Linked DNA regions of Homo sapiens: region 1 is linked to region 2. Evidence: promoter capture Hi-C in 16 types of primary human blood cells and fetal thymus (Javierre and others, 2016). All regions are on one chromosome and are shown on one strand. Each heading gives the region's core, a stretch centred on a gene start or on the middle of the fragment in contact. The rest is flanking DNA. Distances are from core to core; before and after follow the strand shown.

Region 1 (4,166 bases), core at 235-2,734, 390 kb after region 2:
TTCTTGGGTTTTTTGGGGCTCCCAAGGTTTTAGGGAGAGAAAACTTGTTTTTCATCCATGTGTCCCAGAAATAAGCATTTTCAATCAAATGCTGTCAGCCAGTCTCCCGCAGGCGTCCTGAGGGTAGAAGCAAGTTCAGGACTCTTCTCTTGGGAGTATCCTGGCCAGAAACAGCCCCATATCCATGCTTCCCGGGGGTGGTAGGTTTCTTCTGGGAAACCACGCTCAGATGAGAGAGATGAAGCAATTTTCTGTTGGCCACGAAGACCTTGTCACACACCCAGCATGGGAGCAACTGTCACAAAGGGCACACCCTCACCCCCATTCCCAGCTCCAGGAAGTCTCTCTTTACCTTCTTCAGTGCTGATGAAATGAGGGCCACACGACAGAACAGAAACACCGCTGGCGCAGGGACTGAGTAGAAATCTGTAACTTTGAGGACAAATCAGTGCTCCTGAAAATGTCTCTGAGCACCACCTGAGTTTCCTCTCTGGCGCCTTAGTGACTACTGGGAGCATCTGGTGCATATGGATCTTAGTTCATAGCTACCATTTATGTGGTGACAATGCTGTCTCAGGTCCCTTTTTACATTTTCTGATCCGGAAGATGTTCTGAGGGTAATTATTACTGTGCCCACATTGCAAGATGGAGACTGAGGCACAGAGAAGCCCCATCTGCACTGGGTCCCCCAGGCCAGCGGCAGGGCGCAGGACGGAAGGCAGGTCTGTAAAGCCCACGTCTGCCCTGCTGAGCTGCTCTCTCCTGCAAGTGCTGACCTGCCAGCCAGCCAGAGAAGCCGAGGCTCTCCCACAGCCTCAGGGAAAGAATTGGGAAGCTGGGAATTCAGACGGGAAGGGGTTGCTGGAGGAGGCAACCTGGAGTGATAGGGCTTGGCCGCTCAGTACAGGGCAGCAGTTAGACCCTGAGTGCTGGGAGCAGGTGATGACGGTCATCTGTGTTCAGGGACCCCAGTGCTTTCCCTGACCCTGCCAGGGTGAAGCTTCTCCTATGGGCCTGGGGTCCAGGCTGGAGTCTGTTTGCCAGCCAGGGCCTGCGAAGTTTGCTGCTGGCTTGCCCTCTGCTGATGTGCAAAGCTCTCTGTCAAGGGGGAGTGTGTGCTTCCAGGGTGTCATCCGCCAGGGCAGTGGCCTCTGAGCTCCTGGAAGCGTGCCTGCAGGTCAGGTGGTGGAAGTCCACCGGGGCAGGGGCCGTGGGCTGAGAAAGGGAGGGCTCACTGGCAGCGAGCAGGCGGCTGCTTGGCGACCCAAGGCTGGACCTCGTCGGTGAGGGCCAACCATGGGCATGTCCTTAGTTGCCATCCTGGTACTGACAGCAAAACCCCATGGGTCCAAGGTAACAAAGTATTGTCATACTAGGGGACAGAATCTACAAGAGTCCCACAAGGCAGCTGTGCTTATGCTCATCTTACAGATGAGGAACGAAGGGCCAGGAATGGCAGCATGTGGCCAAGGTCCCCGGCAGGGAGTGAGAACTCTCCCGAGTCCCAGTCCATCAGCACCTGGCCCTGGGTACCCCCGGGGTTCGGTTGTCTGTTGCAGAAGCTGTCTGTTGGCTGATACGGCAGCCTCTGGCAGACTCAGGAGCCCAGGGTCAAGGATCAGATTTCCCTGGTGGCTGCTCCTGGCCCCACAGCTCCAGGGGGGTGGCAGCAGCATGTGCAGAAGCCTGTGGCAGGAGACATTCAAGGGGAGAGAGTGTGGAGATGGCACAAAGCGGGCAGAGCTGGGCAAGGCCCTGGCCAGGCAGGTCTTGCAGCCCAGTGAGGAGTTTAACTTTGGTCCTAAGGGCTGTGGGACACCTGCCATGGAGGGTTGTCAGCAGAGGCATGACTCCATCTGATTAGCACCAAGTGCTGCATGCTACATGTTAACCAGTGGTCACAGCTGAGGTGGTGGGGAGGGGCTTAAGCTGTGCACCCATTCTAGCTTTGCAGGATCTGGAAGCTTCCGCAGGTCCAGAAACTGCTGCTGTCATGACACTGTACCCTTTGAAAATTAACCAGTCCCCAGCTTTGCAGCAGGGCCCATTCGACATGGCTCAGATGTCTGTCTCTGTAGATCTTGAGAAGAACAGGGCAGCCCACCTGCAGCTGCACTGCCTCCCTTCTTTGCCCCTCCAAAGGGACAGGTGTCCACCTCGTCACACAGGATCCAGCTCCAGGGCTAGATCATGGATGTTGTTTATCCAGTCCAGGACATGGACTGGAAGCTGCAGGACCCCTCCCTGTGTCATGCTAGGTGCCGTGGGAGTCTCACTGCAAAGTGTGATGTGTAGATAGACGGATTTTCTTTCTTTACTTTTCTTTTCTTTTTTCTTCTCTTCTCTTCCCTTCCCTTCTCTTCTCTTCTCTTCTCTTCTCTTCTCTTCTCTTCTCTTCTCTTCTCTTCTCTTCTCTTCTCTTCTCTTCTCTTTTTGAGATGGAGTCTTGCTCTGCACTTATGTCCTTGCTGGAGTGCAGTGGTGAGATCTCGGCTCATTGCAACCTCCATCTCCCAGGTTCAAGTGATTCTCCTGACTCATCCTCCTGAGTAGCTGGGATTACAGGCACCTACCACCATACTCGGCTAATTTTTTGTATTTTTCATACAGACAGGGTTTCACCATGTTGACCAGGCTGGTTTCGAACTCCTGACCTCAGGTGATCCGCTCGCCTTGACCTCCTAAAGTGCTGGGATTACAGGCGTGAGCCGCTGCGCCCAACCAGATAGACATATTTGGTCCATAAAGGACAATCTGCTCTGTGTGGAGTTGGATTCTGCAATGATCTGACCCAGTGGTTGGCAGTGAGTGGCACTGCTGCGGCCAGGGAAGACTGCAAGTGCAGAGATGAGGTCTGGCATGACAGCCTGGAAACACACAAGACAGGCAAGCTTACGTGCACAGCACCGTGCCACGTGGGCACTGTCCCCCAACTTTCCCTCATGGAATGAGTGGGTGCCTGGGGTTTGGAGTTCAACAGAATTGGATTCAAATCCTCCTGTACCTTTTCCTCAAACTACAACCTCCAGCCGGTGATGCTATCCGAGCCCCCTCATCTCTAAAATGGGGCAGGGACGCCTTCCTGGATGGGTCCTGGTGTGAGTTTGAGGAGGGAGCACGGGGGTGGTGCAGGGTGGGGCCTGATGAGTGGGTCATATTTGGGACATGGTAACCACCAGCTTGAGGGCTCTGTCAAGAGTTGCCTCCTACAGGAAGCCTGCTTGGCAACCGTCCCCCTGCCAAAGCTGCCCTCTGCCTTGTGTGGCCACCACCTCCTGTGTTCCATGCGGCTCTTGTCGCATCCAGCACCATCTTTATGGCGGCCCACTGCCCGGTCCTGTCTCTCCACTCAGGACAGCCGACAGGCAGGCCTCATGCCTCGCAGACACCAGCCCCAGTGCCTACGTGTCTCCCGCCCGTGATCCCCTGTCCCACCCTATTATCTGCCTTTCACCAAAGCATCCTGCCAGCCAGGAAAGGCAATCTGAACCGGAGCCTGTGCAGCTGAGTGGAAGGGGGGCTGCCCTATTGCATTGCTCTGCTTGGGTTTCACTAAAACGTGGGATTGGGCCATGGTCCCTCATCTCCTGGAAGGGACAGGTCATGTTTGACAAAGTTTTCTGGGTCTGCAGCAAAGTGAAAAAAACAAAACAAAACAAAACAAAAAAACAAAAAACTGACATTGTGAAGAGTTTCCTATAGAACTTCAACTAGCTGATTTAAAGAAATACCTCGGGGCCAGGCGTGGTGGCTCATGCCTGTAATCCCAGCACTTTGGGAGGCCGAGGCAGGTGGACCATCTGAGGCCAGGAGTTCGAGACTAGCCTGGCCAACATGGTGAAACCCCATCTCTACTAAAAATACAAAAATTAGCTGCGCATGGTGGCACGTGCCTGTAGTCCCACCTACTCTGGGGGCTGAGGCAGGAGAATCGCTTGAACCCAGGAGGCGGAGGTTGCAGTGACTGGAGATTAGCCTGGGCGACAGAGTGAGACTCTGTCTCAAAAAAAAAGAAAAGAAAAGAAAAGAAAGAGCCTTGGGCTGGGCATGGTGGGCCTGTAATCCTAGCACCTAGGGAGGCTGAGGCAAGTGGATCACCTGAGACAGGAGTTCAAGACCAGCCTGACCAATATGGTGAAACCCGTCTCTACTAAATACAAAAAATT
Region 2 (3,916 bases), core at 964-3,463:
ATAGGGAAAAGTACGCAAATCATGTGTTTGGAGTTCAAAGTGTGATCATGAAGCCGACACTCTGGTAACCCTCAGGTCCAGAAGGGGATGCCCCTCCTCCCCCAGAGCCCTCCTGAATGTGCCCATAATCACCTCCTTGTTTTTCTTCATCTTTCCCCTATTTGTGCACACCTCTAAACGTTATGGTGGAGTCGGGCTTGCTGTCGGTCTAAGCGTGAATGGAATGATCTTTTGTCTTTGCTGGACATCCTGTTAGTGAGATTCATCCATCCTCCCCTGTCCCTAGGTGTTGGGCAGTCCCTGTGGTTACCTCGCAGCCTGCAGGTGCCTTATTCCAGAAAAGCAGGCCCACACCTGAACCCACTGGCTGCAGCTGAGTTTTGTTTATTTAAACCCAACCCACTCTGCTTAAAGCCTTATTGCAAAACAGGCACTCCTGGGGTTCTCTGGTTTTTCCTCCTGCCTGGGTCCCCTTCAGGTCCGCCCAGTAGCCTTCCACTGGGAGGCTCCGGGCTCAGGGACCCGCCCTGCCTTCCGGCCCCAGAACTCCTGTCCTTTCATCCTTCCCGGAAAAATCCCAGTGGAAGGGTATATGGCGGGTGGGGAGGTCCTGGACCGCTCACATTAAGGAGACGGACTTTTCTCCTTCCTCCCCTCCCTCCACACACACATTTCCCAACAGGACTCTCCAGTGGAAACCTCGAATTAAAAGGTTCCAAAGCAACTCCACCTTTTAGATCAATATAACGTGTTCAAATCCTTGCTACTGGGAAGAAAATGCTCACATTGGGCTTCAGCACAAAGACACTGTTTCAGCAGCTTTGAGCGAAGTTGGCTGAGTATGCGTGTGACACACACACAGACACATCGCTCCGGGGGAGAAACCCTTCCGGTTCTCCACAGCCGCCCACGGTCCTCGTTGAGACTGGACTCATCTCAGCTCAGCTCAGAGATTTGGCTGCAGGATCCGACCCTCCCTTGCCAAAAAGACCCGTTCTAGGGGTGACTGCGCATTACTCCCACCCCCACCGCTCCGACCGGCCCCAGGAGAAGCCCTTCTAGGAGAGAAGAGGCGACCCCCACCTACCGTCCCCGACCACTGGGAGGCCTAAGGGCTGCACTGGACTCCGGCGCCCCGAGCGCCACCAAGGGAGTGCGCGCCCTTCCCAGCCGCTGGTGGCACAGTCCCAAAGCCCCGCCCATGCGGGGGGTCGCCAAGTCCTAAGCCTCCACCCCCTTTATCCCTGTGCCCCATCCGGAGGCAGGTGTACCCGTCACGCAAACCTAAAGCTGCCCCCGGCCCCCCGTGGTTCCCCGCAGGAGGCGGGGGTGTGTGTCACTTTTCTGAAAGCTCTAAGGTCTCTGCCCCCCGCCCCCCGCTGTCCTCCGTAGGAGGCTGGGCAGGGGCTGTGGCACAGCTCTAAATCCCTGCGGGTGCTTGCTTGCCCCAGGCAGCTTCCAGGACCCGCAGCCCCCCGCCTTCCCCGCAACCCGCTTCGGGAGGAGCCGGACGCTCGGGGATTCCGCGATGCGTCCGCGAACGCTCGGGTCGGGCCGCACGCGGGAGATGAGCGCGCCTCCGCCGTCCTCTCCAAATCCCTTATGTCAACCGGGGTTTTCTTCTTTCATTTAAAAGTTGCGCTTTAAACCAAGTGGGACGCAGATCCGGTAGCTGCCTATTGGGCTTCAAAGTCCAGGGAGTTTTAGTCGGGGTGAAGCATTTTAGCCTCCGTGCGTCTTGCTGTAAAATGGGTAACCCTCCTCGACAGCCTCCGCAGTCCTTAATGGGTGGGGGGGGGCTCCCCGGCCTCTCGGCCCCAGTCCTCCGCCCCCGGGTCCTACCCGCGCGGCACTCCTGGCGGCGGTCTCCGTGGATCTGTTCTGCCGGGGTGGGGAGCCAGGCTCTGAGCCGCGGCCCCGAGCCCGAGGTGCGGAGCCACCGCCCCACGGGTAGCGGCCACCGGGGGCCCCAGCCCCACCTTTCCCGGCCCTGTTGCCTCGGCCCCGCCCCACCGGGAGGCTGGGTGGGGAGGCCTCCGGGGAGTAGGGCCCCAGTCCCCGTCCCGGCCGCGCCCTCGCGTCTCCATAGCGATCCTCTCGGCGCGCACCTCCGAGCCGGCTCCCCCCGGGGCCGAACAATACGCCGCTGGGCCGGGGGCGGGGCGGGGCCGGGCCGGGGGCGGGGAGAGCGCGGGCGGAGTGGGCGCGGGCCAAGCGCACCGCCCAGGCAGCAGCCGGCCGCCGGGGTCTGCGCGGCGCGGAGCTGCCCAGCCCGCTCCGGGAACTCAGCCCCCGCCCCGCGCCGGGCCCGCCCCGCTTCCCACGCCCGTCCGGCCGAGCCCGCGCCGGAGCCACCTGGAGCCGCCTGGAGCCGCCGCCGCCGCCGCAGGTTGATGCGCGGCGCCCTCCCGGGACGCGCGGAGGAGCCATCTTGAAACCAACTTCGCAAACTTTCGCAAAGTGCTCTCGAAGTGGAAGCTGCGGGGGAGGCCGGGCGCGTGGTCCCCACAGTCCCCGCCAGGGCCCCCGGGGAGGCGGGACGCGGACCGCCCCGAGGGCCGGGCGCCCGGGAGCCGCTCCCCGGCCTCGCCGGGTGGATGCGGAGGCGCGCCGGGTGCATGGATTGTGTTCGGGCGCCCGGCTCGGGCTCGGGCTCCGGGCCATGGCGCCGCCGCCGCCGCCCGTGCTGCCCGTGCTGCTGCTCCTGGCCGCCGCCGCCGCCCTGCCGGCGATGGGGCTGCGAGCGGCCGCCTGGGAGCCGCGCGTACCCGGCGGGACCCGCGCCTTCGCCCTCCGGCCCGGCTGTACCTACGCGGTGGGCGCCGCTTGCACGCCCCGGGCGCCGCGGGAGCTGCTGGACGTGGGCCGCGATGGGCGGCTGGCAGGACGTCGGCGCGTCTCGGGCGCGGGGCGCCCGCTGCCGCTGCAAGTCCGCTTGGTGGCCCGCAGTGCCCCGACGGCGCTGAGCCGCCGCCTGCGGGCGCGCACGCACCTTCCCGGCTGCGGAGCCCGTGCCCGGCTCTGCGGAACCGGTGCCCGGCTCTGCGGGGCGCTCTGCTTCCCCGTCCCCGGCGGCTGCGCGGCCGCGCAGCATTCGGCGCTCGCAGCTCCGACCACCTTACCCGCCTGCCGCTGCCCGCCGCGCCCCAGGCCCCGCTGTCCCGGCCGTCCCATCTGCCTGCCGCCGGGCGGCTCGGTCCGCCTGCGTCTGCTGTGCGCCCTGCGGCGCGCGGCTGGCGCCGTCCGGGTGGGACTGGCGCTGGAGGCCGCCACCGCGGGGACGCCCTCCGCGTCGCCATCCCCATCGCCGCCCCTGCCGCCGAACTTGCCCGAAGCCCGGGCGGGGCCGGCGCGACGGGCCCGGCGGGGCACGAGCGGCAGAGGGAGCCTGAAGTTTCCGATGCCCAACTACCAGGTGGCGTTGTTTGAGAACGAACCGGCGGGCACCCTCATCCTCCAGCTGCACGCGCACTACACCATCGAGGGCGAGGAGGAGCGCGTGAGCTATTACATGGAGGGGCTGTTCGACGAGCGCTCCCGGGGCTACTTCCGAATCGACTCTGCCACGGGCGCCGTGAGCACGGACAGCGTACTGGACCGCGAGACCAAGGAGACGCACGTCCTCAGGGTGAAAGCCGTGGACTACAGTACGCCGCCGCGCTCGGCCACCACCTACATCACTGTCTTGGTCAAAGACACCAACGACCACAGCCCGGTCTTCGAGCAGTCGGAGTACCGCGAGCGCGTGCGGGAGAACCTGGAGGTGGGCTACGAGGTGCTGACCATCCGCGCCAGCGACCGCGACTCGCCCATCAACGCCAACTTGCGTTACCGCGTGTTGGGGGGCGCGTGGGACGTCTTCCAGCTCAACGAGAGCTCTGGCGTGGTGAGCACACGGGCGGTGCTGGACCGGGAG

What was found. The method cuts DNA at HindIII sites, captures the fragments that hold promoters and counts their contacts. A CHiCAGO score of 5 or more calls a contact.
Region 1: a fragment that was not itself captured here is called in contact with the fragment with the promoter of CELSR1 in region 2 in 1 of 17 cell types (M1 macrophages); the score reaches 5.1 in M1 macrophages.

Annotation. Positions count from the first base shown.
Region 1 is chr22:46,144,683-46,148,848 of GRCh38, reverse strand. No RefSeq gene overlaps it. Among named protein-coding and RNA genes, the nearest start is that of PPARA, 3.8 kb to the left of the region's middle. The HindIII fragment of the contact is 964 bases long and covers 1,003-1,966 here.
Region 2 is chr22:46,535,917-46,539,832 of GRCh38, reverse strand. CELSR1 (cadherin EGF LAG seven-pass G-type receptor 1) reads left to right here and starts at 2,213. Exons shown (of 35, transcript NM_001378328.1): 1 at 2,213-3,916. The coding sequence starts at 2,663. The HindIII fragment of the contact is 22,329 bases long and covers 1-3,916 here.